Regions from separate parts of the Homo sapiens genome. Here all the other regions are linked to region 3. The links are contacts of gene promoters, found by promoter capture Hi-C in blood cells and fetal thymus (Javierre and others, 2016). All regions are on one chromosome and are shown on one strand. The core of a region is centred on a gene start or on the middle of the fragment in contact, and the rest is flanking DNA. Distances in the headings are between cores, read along the strand shown.

What was found. The method cuts DNA at HindIII sites, captures the fragments that hold promoters and counts their contacts. A CHiCAGO score of 5 or more calls a contact.
Region 1: a fragment that was not itself captured here is called in contact with the fragment with the promoter of LINC03122 in region 3 in 1 of 17 cell types (activated CD4 T cells); the score reaches 5.0 in activated CD4 T cells.
Region 2: a contact is called between a fragment that was not itself captured here and the fragment with the promoter of LINC03122 in region 3, in 1 of 17 cell types (megakaryocytes). The highest score is 5.2, in megakaryocytes.
Region 4: a contact is called between the fragment with the promoter of ZSWIM6 here and the fragment with the promoter of LINC03122 in region 3, in 15 of 17 cell types (activated CD4 T cells, total CD4 T cells, non-activated CD4 T cells and 12 more). The highest score is 17.0, in activated CD4 T cells.
Region 5: a contact is called between a fragment that was not itself captured here and the fragment with the promoter of LINC03122 in region 3, in 4 of 17 cell types (naive B cells, naive CD4 T cells, total B cells and 1 more). The highest score is 7.5, in naive B cells.

The regions. Positions count from the first base shown.
Region 1 is chr5:61,226,870-61,229,569 of GRCh38, reverse strand. All of the region lies in intron 3 of SMIM15-AS1 (SMIM15 antisense RNA 1), which reads right to left. Among named protein-coding and RNA genes, the nearest start is that of LINC02057, 37 kb to the left of the region's middle. RefSeq lists a silencer at 1,662-1,862. The HindIII fragment of the contact is 1,809 bases long and covers 410-2,218 here.
Region 2 is chr5:61,353,481-61,356,180 of GRCh38, reverse strand. The region is part of intron 1 of ZSWIM6 (zinc finger SWIM-type containing 6); the gene reads right to left. Among named protein-coding and RNA genes, the nearest start is that of ZSWIM6, 23 kb to the right of the region's middle. The HindIII fragment of the contact is 1,300 bases long and covers 616-1,915 here.
Region 3 is chr5:61,636,421-61,639,120 of GRCh38, reverse strand. LINC03122 (long intergenic non-protein coding RNA 3122) reads right to left here and starts at 1,340. Exons shown (of 2, transcript NR_126525.1): 1 at 1,275-1,340. The HindIII fragment of the contact is 4,932 bases long and covers 1-2,700 here.
Region 4 is chr5:61,330,844-61,333,543 of GRCh38, reverse strand. ZSWIM6 (zinc finger SWIM-type containing 6) reads right to left here and starts at 1,286. Exons shown (of 14, transcript NM_020928.2): 1 at 596-1,286. The coding sequence starts at 1,271. It overlaps LOC105378994 (a long non-coding RNA gene), which reads left to right and starts at 1,328. Exons shown (of 2, transcript XR_007058781.1): 1 at 1,328-1,404. RefSeq lists silencers at 392-501, 1,282-1,421, 1,532-1,931, 2,142-2,211, 2,242-2,700 and 1 more and an enhancer at 2,626-2,700. The HindIII fragment of the contact is 10,173 bases long and covers 1-2,700 here.
Region 5 is chr5:61,129,788-61,132,487 of GRCh38, reverse strand. The region is part of intron 3 of NDUFAF2 (NADH:ubiquinone oxidoreductase complex assembly factor 2); the gene reads right to left. Among named protein-coding and RNA genes, the nearest start is that of SMIM15-AS1, 31 kb to the left of the region's middle. The HindIII fragment of the contact is 2,125 bases long and covers 305-2,429 here.

The sequences.
Region 1 (2,700 bases), core at 65-2,564, 410 kb after region 3:
GAGGATGCTCTGCAGACAGACAGCAACCAGGAAGACACAGATAACCATGAGCAAAGCTGGGAAGATAGGCCAGGATCACGGCCCATCTGCAGGAAGGGGAATGGGAAGTTGGCAGAGAACAGGATCAAGGAGGACAAGCATCTCGGATGGTCTCACTGCCAGTAAGAAAGCTGCTGGTTCTTGCATACTTGCATACTTCCTGCTGGGACAAAAAGCAAGCTCAAATCAGCCCAAGGCTTCTGGGTCTGTCCTAAGGATAGGATGGGAAGGTAACACTGTGCCTCTGTAACAGTTAGATGAGAGGGCCCCTCTAGGCAGATGCAGCCCTGGCTTGGCAAGCAGAAGTGTCTAGGAGAAGAAAAGAGCCCCATCGTCCAGGCAGATGGAGGAAGCACCCCACCTGCAAGCTTGGTGAGCAGAGTGCAATCTGGATTCAGTGCCCCCTATACCGCAGCCAGAGCTTCCGTGCAACCACATGCGTAACCACATGTGATGACCCTGCTGTGAAGCGGGGGAGGAGGGTCGATTCTGGTCCTGAAATACTTGCACACACTGGCCAGATCTTAGTGTTTTGACCGTAAGTCAGGACAATTTTGAGCTTCTCTTCTCTGAGTTCTCCGGCACCTTCTCAGACACAGGGGTTGTAAATGAGTCATCACCAGGGGTGTATGATGCATTAACACTGGACTGATTTCAAACACAGAGGCAAGTGGGTGAGCCCAGAGGGCCTGGTGCATCTGCATTGTGGTGCCACCACAGCCTGCCTGGGCAGTGGCTGGCTTATGCAGAGGGCAAGCTGGGAAAAGCTACCAAAAGGCACTGCTGCCAAAAATGCCGTTCCAGTTGGATGGCAAGCCATGTTCCACGACTCCGCGGCTGGAGAACAAAAACTCCTGCTGTGCTTCTTTTAAGATCAGGAAAATACCACCTTCCTATGGGGTTACTTCTGAAGATTTCATTAAAAGGCAACGGTGGTCACAGCCTTGCGAACTTAGCTCCCTTCCCCAGGGGCGATCATTGTACCTGACCACCGTGCTTTTGTTTTGCCACTCAGAGTAGCCCTTAAACTGCCTCTACTTCCTAATTTGTCATCCACCCATTTCCTTATCTTTTGATAGCAGCTCTCCCAGGGAGCGTGTTGGTTCTGGCAAGAGGCTCTTGACCTGGTTTCTGTTTCAGTTAGGTCTATTTCCATAGGTCTGACCAGTTAGGTCTCTCTCATGCTATGCTTCTGTTCAATATTTCTTGAATGCTTGGCATGTGCCAGGCACTGTGGTAGGGGAATGCAGAGACGACTGACATGGTTTCTCCCCTTAAGGAGTTTGCACTATGGTAGAAGACACAGAAACAAACCAGCAGTAGTGGGCAGTGGCTGCGTGCAGGCATATCCAGCATCTATTCCCTCCTTCCTCTTCCTAACAGAATCATAACACTGTTCTGGAATCTTCTCTCTCCTCAAGAATCACCTCTCTTTCTCTTTCTCTCTCTCTCTCTCACACACACACACACACACACACACACACACACACACACACAGCGCCTGCGTTGGAGGTGAGGTCCAGTAACTATTTGGTGGATAAAGCCAGAAGCAGGATGAGTCAGAGGTGGCATTTAAGAGGAAGGGAGCTGGGGCCGCACTGAAAGCCCACACTGGCACTGGATGGACGGTGTTACTGGATCCACTGTGGAGTTGAACTGTATGGTGTGAGCAACACGGGCCAGCAGGACTGAAGAGAAAGCCAGTGTGCAGCTGTGCTTCGTTCATTTTCACTGCCCCAAACTATATAGTATGAATATACTATAATTTATTTATTCATATTCATGAGTTCATTTACTCATTCAGTCAATGGACATCTGAGTTCTTTCTAGCTTCTCAAAATTGTGTTTCTTTGAGAAGGGTTGTTTGATTTTGTTATTATGATAAACAGTGCTGCTGTAAACATTCCAAAACAGGTCTCCTGGTACACATGGTGAAGTTCATATTTAGGGGTTAATACCAAATTGTCTTCTCCATGATGGCACAATTGGCATTTCCAACAGCAGGCATTAGGGTTTCCATTTGTTCCATATCCTCACTCACACTTTGTCTTATGACACTTATGATATTTTTTAAATCTAGCGATTTACATTGCAAATTTGAACTTGAATTGTTCTGATATTAATGAGATTAAACATATTGTGAACATTGGTCATTTGTGTTTCTGCTTCTGTGAAAGCTTATTCAAGGCTTTTGCCCATTTCATCCAGAGAAGACTGATTTTGGCTTGGACCAGTGTAGTGGCAATGGGGTGGTGAGAAGTGGCCAGTGAAAAGAAGCACTGTGTTGTTATAAAGGAATACCTGAGGCTGGGTAATTTATAAAGGAAAAAAAGGTCTATTTGGCTCATGATTCTGATGGCTGGGAAATTCAAGATTGGGCATCTGCATCTGGTGGGGGCCTCAGGCTGCTTCCGATCAAGGCAGAAGGCCAAGAGGAGCCAGCCTGTGCAGGGACCACAGGGTGAGAGAGGAGGCAGGAGAGAGCTGGGAGGTGCCAGGCTCTTTAGCAACCAGCTCTGTGGGAAGTAATGGAGTAAGAAGTCTATCAGTCTCTATCAAGGCATTAAATCTATTAGGGCATTAATCTATTCAGGAGGGATCCACCCCCATGACCCACACGCCTCCCATTAGGCCACACTTCTAACACTGGGGATCAAATTT
Region 2 (2,700 bases), core at 16-2,515, 280 kb after region 3:
TGCAGTGAGCTATGATTCTGACACTGCACTCCAGCTTGGACAACAGAGCAAGGCTCCATCTCTGCCGAAACACACACACAGACACACACACACAGTGTTTTGAAACTAAGGTTTAAGAATCACTACAGTGTTTAGATTTATGCTGGCAAAAAGTTAAAATCAAGTATGTAATCAAATCATAACTGAATTGTATACATAAACAGAAAGAACTTATTATGAGACCAAAGGGCCTAGAGACTAGCACTAATTAAAAAATAATGAAGCCACTATGTAATTTTAAATTTCCTAGTAGTCACATTTTAAAAATTAAAATAAACAGGCTAAATTAATTCTAATAATACTTTTAACACAAATATTATCATTTCAATAAATTGTTCATAATGTTTTACATTCTTTTTATTGCACTAAGTCTTCAAACTCTGGTGCATGTGTTACACTTTCAGTAATCTCAATTCCAGCCTGCCACATGGCTACCACATCAGACAGCAAAATTATAGATGAATTAAAATTTGCCAGTCTCTTTACTGAACAGATTGATATTTAGCATAATGGTAGCAATCTACTATCCTTTTCTACAAATTACTTGTAAATTATATTTTTTAAAAGTTTAAAGCTTTAAATGTATTGTTCTCTAACACTTAGTTACAAAACTAAGTTAACATTCTGGCTCCTGCCATCTAATAGTGTGTGTGTGTGTGTGTGTGTGTGTGTGTGTGTGTGTGTGTGTGTGTGTGTGTGTGTGTGTGTGTTTTAAAGTCTCTCAAGAGATTCGCACTGTAAACAGGTAAGCTACATCACTTAGCTACATCAATACCATCACTGCTATTTATTTTTCTAGTCTGAAAGCCGGGGGCATCTCAACTTGACTTTCTCTAGCCCAAAGGAACACCCAGGAGCCACTGTAGGCCTCCACTGGCACCCAGAATAAGGAATTCTCATCTCCTGGGCTTGAGAACAGAAAACTAAGTCACAACTACCAAGCTAAATACCCAAGCTGACGTATCTGGTCCTTTGACAAGGGAAACTGATATAACCCCATCACTAATTCAACAGCAGCAGTTACTCAGTGGGGCTAGTAGAATTGTGATAAACAAAAAATATCAGTCACATTTTTAATGTGATTAAAATAATACTTTAATACTGAATTAAAAACAGGACAAATCAGCTTGAGATACCTTTAATTACTCATGATCTGTAAAATGAGACCAGATTATAAAATTAAAAATCTAAATAGACTACAAAATAGCTCTTACTTTCAGTAGAAAGTAAAATAAAGTACAACATATATTGCCTTAATACAGTTGATGATCAAAATGCAGTCTAAGAATGGAATATATAATAAGTCACTGAATACAGAGGCAGACTATAAGTCATAAAATGGTGCTTTGAGAAACTCCCTCAACTGTCCTTAATATTCAAAATCCAGGGTATGATAATGGTTTACTCTAGAATCAAGTGATGTATGAATTTAAATTAGACCCTAAAGAAATGCAGGGGGATTGAAATGGAGCCTCTAATACCAAACAACTTATGAACCCCTCAAAAATAATGGACTGTTCCTTCGCTTACCAGAAAGTGAGTTTTCTTTTGCACATAAAACTCTTGCCATAAGCAAAAATGTACTTGTGTGTCTATGCAAGAGTAGTGTGATAATTACATACTTTTGGGGCTTAAATACATCTCGTGTCACGTCACACCTAAGGCATACAGTTATTTCATTTTGAACCATTCACTCCAGAGAGTAATTATTCATCCTATAACTTGGTCATAAAATGCAGAGCTTACTCAGTATTTCAGCAATTGTACAGCATAGGTGGATTTTTACATGGTACTTCTATAAATCAGATAACCAAAACATGTACCTTAATAAGTTAAAGTGCTAAAATTATGGTGAGTTATATAGACTTCCTAAGCTTTTAACTTGTGCCCAGTCTACACAGAAAGCTGCAAATGCTACAGGTAGATCCAACTATGGAATAAAGTTGAACACGCAGGCAGTTAATCTGAGCAGGGATAAGTACGATGGCAGCAGGAATGAGGTCACAAGAAGGCATGAAGACATTCAAAAGACCATTCCTGGATGCTGCCTGGAAAGATAACCTTTCCTCATCAGCAAACAGAAGAGTTTCCTAAAACAAAGCGGGGAAAGCACATTTTAAGGCTTGCTCTAAGAGTTAGGTCTTTAAGCTATAATTCGGTAGTAAGAGAATGTCTACAGCATCTGCTGAATCTATCTACAGGGCTGCCAACACAATCCACAAGAACTCGAAGTTGTGCCTTCCAGTAACTGAGGTGTGTGCACCTCTACTGCCTCACACAGCTTGTTATACTCATCTGTTTCTGAAGGATGTCCTACACACATTGCCCCAGTCTCCCACTAAAAATCGAGAAAATGGTAATTGTTTCAAGTCAAAGTATTTATGTCACTAAATGTTGTGACTGAAATTATTTGTAAATGTCCAACAAAGAAAAAGTCACCCTCAACTGAGTGTAGTATCAGCTCCAAGGAACAAGAAGGTACTATATCGTGAATGGGTTACACATCCATTACTACTTATCAAAGAGAAAAAAATAAAACATAATACATTCAGAAGTAGTGAAACACTGCTCAGAGGTCAGGCCACTATATTTGAATGGTATCACAGACCAAGGAGGACTGTGAATGACACATGTGCAAAAAGACAAGCTGCCTCTAGCAAC
Region 3 (2,700 bases), core at 91-2,590:
GCAGGAGAATAGCGTGAACCCGGGAGGCGGAGCTTGCAGTGAGCAGAGATCGCGCCACTGCACTCCAGGCTGGGCGACAGAGCGAGACTCCGTCTCAAAAAAAAAAAAAAAAAAAAAAAGACTGTGTGTCCCACTTTATCTGAGGGGCCAATCTGCTCAAGACATTTTTGAGCTGCCAGTCCCGAACTGCGTGCTTAAGCCCCAAGAGCTAGCAGGTATCCGCAGAGCCCCTGCACAGGGCTGCTGGGAGTTTCCATTGGCCACGCCTTCTGACCTCAGTTCTGCACTCCCATGCTCATTAGCTCCCTGCATTCTTGGATGCTCTTGAATATTCCCCTGCTCACCCTTCTTCTCTTGCCTGGTACAACCTTGGTAGCCTGACCCCAGAACTGGGCTGCTTGCCCTGGGCACCAGTTGGCTTTGTTCCCAGGCATTACTGCTGGGATTCGCTCTGGACTCTGAAATATGCCTCCTCAGCCAGCCCGACTGCCCAGATCCCACCAGCCTGCTCTGTCCAGAGAGATGAGACATTCGGACTATTCAGTGTCCGTTCATGCCATCTGCTGGGATCATGATTTCTATACTCTGGTCACACATTACATGAATAATACTTCCCCCATTTCCTCAAAAAGATCCTCAGACAAGCTCAACCCCCATGTGCTAGTAGTTCAGGATTCTATGACCATCCTAAGTTTACACAACCACTTGGCCTTGGCTGGCCAAGACATGATGGTGTGGGAGCCTAGGAAGACCCTTCAGAGACGGCAGCAACCAGACTCCTCTTCTCACAGTCCCCCTCCAGCTCTGGTCTGTCCTCCTCACACAACCTCCCCCTCACAGTTTTGGGGTCTCATCTTTGGACCCTCTCTTGCCCCATTTTCCAAACACATCATCCCTGGCTGTATTAGGGGTCTCTGGGGCAGCCGCACTATGCTTTGATAGAGGGATGAGGTAAAGTTATTTTCCACTTTATTAACCTGAAAAAGCATAAACCGACCAAGTTTAGGGGCCTGAAGCATATTCTAAACAGACAGTGTCTCCTCCCTGACCCAGTTCTCTTACGGAATCATGGGAACCCATCTCCTCGACTTAGCAGCGGCAGACAGGCTGGTGTTTCTTGGCATTGTTTTCTAGGGCTGAAGCTGCAGTTTTCCTGATTTGGCCCTTGCATATTATTTAATTGTTTATCTTGACATACAGGTTTATCCCAGAAGGGGATGTTTAAAAAGTGGCATGGAGACCCTGGCTATAGACAGAAATGCAGCTTAACTTACCTTGGCTTCCTTCCTGCCAGACTCCTCCCAATTATTCTGCAGGCTTCTTTGCCCTGAGGGCAGTTTGCAGCTCCAGGGACTGGAATTGGCTTAAAAAAAAAATTCCTTCCTCTCTGTGCCCCATGTGAGGGAGCATTGTGTTCTCTCTAAATAATCAGCCTGGCTTTGTGTGACCTAACTGGACAGGGCCCTTTGAGAGATTTTTCAGTTGCAGAAAGAGCAGTCAGTGGCATCCTACAAAATCAGAAAGTTTTCAGACCAAGGAGAGAAGTCAGTGACAGCAAGATATTTTTTTCTTTAAGTTGTATTGTGACTAATTCCTCTCTCCCACTGGTGTTTAGAGTAATTAGGTAAAAGTGCAACAGAAGAATCCAAATTTATATTTTAGATCTAATAAATAATAACATTTAATCAGATGATCCCCATCCATTAACACCAAAATAACAAACAATTCAATGAATTATTTTAGGGTACTTACTATGTGCAAGGCATTGTCAAGGTAATTATTTCTTGCATTTACTGATTTCCTCCTGGGGACGCAGCACTAGCAAGAAGCTAATGGATTAGAAAGAAGTAGAAGGCCTCCAGCTGACAACCCACTCAGAAGAGAACATGGATCAGAATTGCCTGCCTCCATGGCAGGCACAGAGCTGGGAATTCATAAGCAGAAATTACTTCATTCAATCATCTCAATAGCCCTGTGGGGAAGACAGTAGTTCTCCATTTTACAGATGTGGAAACTGAGATCCAAAGACTATGTATATAGCAGGCAGAATGATGCCTCCCCTCCTTCAAAAATTCTGAAGGCTGTGAATAGGTTACCTCAAATGGCAAAAGGGGCTTTGAAGAGGTGATGAAAGGTTTTGCAGTGGGGATGTTACTATCGACTTTCTGAGTGGGCCCAGTGTAATTGCCATGGTCTTTAATAAGGGGGTAGATAGGAAGATAAGAGTGAGAATGACAGGGATGTGACAATGGAAACAGAAATTGGAGTGATGTCGGGTCATGAGTCAAGGAATGCATGCACCCTCTAGAAGCTGGAAAAGGCAAGAAAACAGATTCCTCCCCCTCCACCCCAAGCCTCCTGAAGACGCCCTGCCCTGATAACCCACTGTGAACTTCTGGCCTCCAAAACTGTAAGATATCTTGGTCCATTTTCTGCTGCTGTAACAGAATACCACAGGCTAGGTAACTTATAAATAACAGAAGTTTATTTGTCTTATGGATCTGGAGGCTGGGAAGTGCAAGATCAAGGGGCTGCATCTGGTGAGGGCCTTCTTGCTGTGTCATAACATGCAGAAGGCATTACCTGACAAGAGAGCATGCGAGAGAGAGAGAGGAAGGGAACCAGAACTTCATTCTTCTATGTGGAGCCCACTCCTTTGATAACTAACACACTCCTGTGATTAACAGCCTTGATCCATTC
Region 4 (2,700 bases), core at 37-2,536, 310 kb after region 3:
CGCCGCGGCCGCTCGCCCGTCGGAGCCCTGGGAGGAGCGGCGGCCGAGCGGCTTTAAGTGTATTCCCCTCCCCTCAAATCGCGTGGGGCGGGGGCCAGAAAGAAAAAGGAGCGAGCGACAGGCAGTGGGAGAGGGGGGGAGCGCCGAGCGGCCGGGCCGCGGCCGGCATTGTCTGCGGCCCGCGCCCCCTCCCCCGCCCCGCACAGCCCCGCCACACACACCCTCGCCGGAGGCCGGCCGTCCGCCCGCGCCTTTGTCCACATCCACCCCCGAAACCGGCGAACAGCCCTCCAGGATGTGCTCCCCGGAGGAGGGCGGGTAGGGGAGCGCGGGCCGGGGGCGCGGAGCCCACGGAGGGGCGCGTCCTGCTGATTCATTTCCCACTCGCGCTGGCCCGTCCGGGGCGACGGGGGGCAGGGAAGGGAGGGAGGAAATGGGCGCTCCGCTCAGGAGGACCGTCCGGGCCAGTGAGGACACCCGCAGGGGTGCGGGCGCGCGCGGAACTAGGGGCTGTCCGCAGGAGAAAGGCGGGCACCCCCCCCCCACCCAGGGACTGACGGACGGACAGACGGCTCGCGGCTGCCCCGTGACTCACCGACTTGCAGGACGTTGTCTACGCAGCCGCTTTCCAACAGCGCGATGCCCCGGCGGAAAGGCAGCCGCGTCTCGTCGCCGCCGTCCGCCGCCCCGGCAGCCCCCACCGACGGGGCCCCGGCCCCCGCGGCGGCGGCGGCGGCGGCGGCGGCGGCGGCAGCGGCGGCGGCGGCCGAGGTTGCGGCCGCCGAGGTTGCGGCCGGGGAAGACGAGGAGCCGCCGCCGCCGCCGCCGCCCGCGCCGCCGCCGCCACCGCTGTCGTCGCCGGGGCCGCCCGCGGCGCCGCCGCCGGTGTTGAAGGACGAGTACATGCAGATCTCCCGCTCGCTGCGGGGGAAGGACCAATAGACTATGCGGCGCTGCACCGGCTCCGGGATGCGCTCAAAGCGCTCCTCCACGCGCTGGAACGGCCACTTCTCCGCCACCCTGCGCGCCGCGATGTCCAGCAGCGACTCGGGGCTCTGGGTCTTGCCCGGCGGCAGCAACCCCAGCGCCGCGCCGCCCCCGCACGCCGCCGCCGCCGCCGCGCCACCCGCCCGCGGGCCTGGCCGACAGGCAGAGCTGTAGCCGCCACCCGCGCCGCCGCCGCCGCCGCTGCTGCCCCCGCCGCCGCCGCCGCCGCCCGGCCGGCAGCAAAGCCGTTTCGCGGGAGGAGGCTGCTGTCCGCGCTCCGCCATGACCGCGCCGCTTCTAACCCGACAGCGGAAGTGCCGGGACCCTATAAACGGCACTAGGAAGCGCGACACGCACACGCCGTCGCGACGCCACGATGCCATCTAGGGCCCGCCGCTCCTTGTATGGGCACAAGAGGTGGGGCCTCCGCTGTGACGCAGAAGCTGGGGCGGGGCTCTGATAGGGGGAACCTAGGGCCGGGGGCGGGGCCTATGCAAATCGCTGGGCTGAAACATAAATAGAGCGCTTGGCGGACACGGGGGTGGCGGGGGCGGGCCGTTTTGGTGCCCGGTGGGTTGTGAGAATGTCAGGCTGCTGTGACGCGGGGGAGGGCGGGGTCAGGCGGGGTTCCCGTGGGAGGGGGCGGGCCGCCGGGCCGGGCCTGAGGTGGGTGGGTCTCTGCGCCCCCTGCCTACCCCACTTCCCCCTCCAGTTCTCAGCTTCTCTTTGAAGTCCGAGAAGTGAGGATGCGCCTCGTGGGTCGCAGCGGGGGAGGAAAGGGGAGAAGAGGGGGTGAGCGAAGGGGAGGGTTCTGAGCTAAATGGAGGGCGGGGCCCACGGGCCGATGCCCCACCCCCCCCGTCCCCCTGCCCTTCGGGGGAAAAGCCTCTGGGCGGAGGAGGCGCTTTCAAAACAAAGAAATGCGGCATGGACCCCGGGGGACGCGGGTGGAGAGGAAGGCGGAGGAGGCGCGGCCAAACCCGAGCGCCTGCCAGCTTCCCCTCCAGCCGGTCCAGGGGAGCTCTCCCCACCACCCGCCGAAGCTGCAGCGGGGAAGGGGGAGGATGGCTGCGTTCGGCGGCGGCTTTCCACTTCACTTTTGCAGACCTGGTGTGGAAGGAGCGCGCCCGCTCTGCTAACCCCGCGTGGCTGCAGTGCGCCCATCCCCGAGCCCCGCGTCCGTTCTGTCTCGGCTGCAGGGCTGTGCCCGAAAACACGCAGAGCGCTCGGAACGTGCCCAGCAGCCGCGCGACCCGCGTCCGGTGCCGGCTGCCACCGTCCCGCCCTCGCTGCCTCAGCCCCTCGGGCCAGGAAACCGACCCGCCCGCTAGAAGTCGAGGAGCTCCGGCCGCCCTTGTCGCCCCCGCGGCCGCGCGGACAAGGCCCCGCTCCAGGCCGGGGTTTCTCCAGCTCGGGGTGGAACGCAGCCCGGGCTGTGGGGTTAGCAGACACACCTTTGTGAGTACACACGCCGCAGGGCGCGCGCAAGCCCCACGGGCTCGCGCACACATCGCCCAGCAGGCGGCAGACGGCGTGCCAGGCGGCGGACGGCGGCTTCGGGCGCACTTGGGTCTGCGGCCCGGCTCCCACCCCGGCACCCGGGTGCGCGGCGCCCGGCTGCGCGGAGTCCAGGCGCTCGGGACGCGCGCCGCGCTCTCAGTCGCCTTGGCGGCGCCCGCAGGGCCAGTCCCCTCGGGTCCGGGCAGTGTAGGG
Region 5 (2,700 bases), core at 118-2,617, 510 kb after region 3:
AGAGAGGCTCAGCGATGTTCCAGCAGTGATGGAGACAGCAATATGAAGAAACAAATTGAGGTGAGAATTCTCAAAGGAGGTGGGGGAGGGAAGCAAAAAGATCACTGGGAAATAAGAACAAAGGAGACGGAGAATCAAGGGTAAAGAAGGAACCCACCAAAAGACCTAGGCTGAAGCCCTCTTTCTTTCACTTATTCATGTACACAATCACTCAATATTATTGAGCATGAACTCTGAGCCAGGTACTGTTCTAAATCCTCGAGAGATGGCAGGGACCAAAACACAGTCCTGCTTTCATGAAGCTTAGATTCTAGTAGGAAGAAACAAACTATAAATAGACAAATCACACAGCTAGTGAATGTAAGTAAATAGGTGACTGGCTGTGTTGCCATATACTTCTCATTTAATCCGCTTGCCATTTTGGTTTAGCAAAGAAACAAGAAACTTGAAATAGTGTGGGAGTACATATTTGCCAAGGGGAAAAGCAGAACTTTTAAAAGCTCCTTCAGAATGTTCTTTTCTCTTTCTTAAAATGGAAATCACTGTTCTTTTAGCTGCAAAAGTAATACATCTTGAAAAAAATACAGAAATGTAAACAACAGAAATCTACAAAATAGAAAATATCTCATAATTTCATATCCACTGTTAAAAAGTCTAATCATTATAGACTTCCCCCTGCATATACATGTGTTTATAATATAAATATAGTGTATCCCATTTACATGTTTATAATTATAGATAAAATATATACTACGAATACTATTCCATAAACTGCTTTTCACTCAATATTTTTCAGACATCTTTTTTGTGTCAATATATATAGGTGTACATTATCCTTCATAATGGCTGCATACTAGTTAGTATTCCATTGTAATTTATTCGTTCAATCCCCTATAGATGAATGTTTAGAATGGTTCATATTTTACAATACTACAAACAACATTCTTGTATAAAATTTGTATACATTTGCCATTCATTCTTTAGGATACCTTCTCAGAACTGGAATTGCTGCATTAAAAGTTTCTCATATATTTGGAAAATTGCTCTCTAAAGAGTTAACATCCATTTTGGGCAACAAAGTGAGACCCTGTCTCTACAACAAACATAAAAAACAAACCAAAAAACCCCCCAAAAAAACAACACAATTAGCTGGGCGTGGTGGCCTGTGCCAGGCTGAAGAGGATGAATTGCTTGAGCCTAGGAGTTTGAGGTTACTGTTAGCTATGATCTTTCCACTGCACTCCAGCCTGGGAAAGAAAGTGAGACCCTGCCTCAAAAAAAAAAAAAAGAAAAAAAAGTTAACATCAACTTACACCTGTATCTATGGTGAATGAGAATACCTGTTTCCCCACAACTTTGTCAATACAAAAAAGAGAAGTCTTTATTCTGTATTTTAAAACTTTTCCCCTCAGTCTTTGGCTTAACTTTGTCTAGGATTTTAACTATCAAAAAGTAGAAACTTCTTATGTTGTCAAATTTGTCAATCTTTTCATCATAGTATCTGGCTTTAGTGTCATGCTACTCTCTCGTGTATTCCTTTTTTATCCTTCAGTTTTCAGCCTAAAGAAGGTTGAACCTGTTTTCACATTTGTAATGTCCCATTTCTGGTACTGTTTCGTATTGTTATGTGTCTGTCTTTCTCACTGGAGCATAAACTCCCTTGGCCATCTGCAGATTCTCCTCTATATCTCCAACATCTAACACAGAATAGGCATTTATAAGTTATTTGTTGAATAAATTTTAGAGTCTTCCTTTTTGGGGCCTACTGCTAGTTTTCCCTGGAACAATGTTCCTTCTCAGAGATCAAATGAATATTAAGGGAATCAAACAAACCCTTCACTATAAGAAGTAATTTAGAGGGAGGGAAGGTAAATCTCATTGACTCCTTCTCCGAAAAAACACATCAAGTCAGGCATTGCTGAACCAGACTTGTCAGAAAATCTTGGACTGGGCTTGACTGAACACTGCAATATGGCAAGTGAGTCAGGCAAGTTATATAAGATCTCTGGGGAAATTCTTCCGGTTCAATAACCTGTAATGTTGCTTTCATGATAACCAAGAGTGCATCCAAATCCTGTTTCTCAAGAATTTTGATGGTTTCAAAATCTACTGTTCCCTTTTCAAAATGAATTACATGCCATACAACAAATTTAGGAAGAGTCTTGTGATGCCAGAGCACCCCAAAAGTTGGGAACTTGTACCCTGGGTTCTACTGATATCCTCTGGGATGGCAATTCATAACTCATTTCAAGGAAAGTGATATTTGTGTTACATATTTAAGTACAAGTTTCAGCAACAGTGATAGTCAATTCCTTGAAAAGTACCAGTTAAAGATACAAACTAAAAGTTTGTCTTACCATTTGCTAGGTAAAACCATTTTTTTAAAAGACATCAAGGTTGGTTCCTTTGCATTCTGGCAATAAAAAGCTTCGTGGTATTCAGATTAGATGAATGTTTTCTAGAATAATTCTTGAGAATGTTTCTTTTCTTTTATACTAAGTTATCTTTTAAGTGTGGCAGGAATTAGAACAGCTCTTATCTGGAAAATTTTCTCAAGGATACTTGTAATATTAGAATTAGAAAGTCTTTTTAACATGCCTAGGTTGAACAAAAAGCTGGGTTTTATTTGCATAGTGTATGATAATAGCATTTATTTTCTACTATTATTTTTTACTTATAAGTACTTTTCCTTTTTTATTA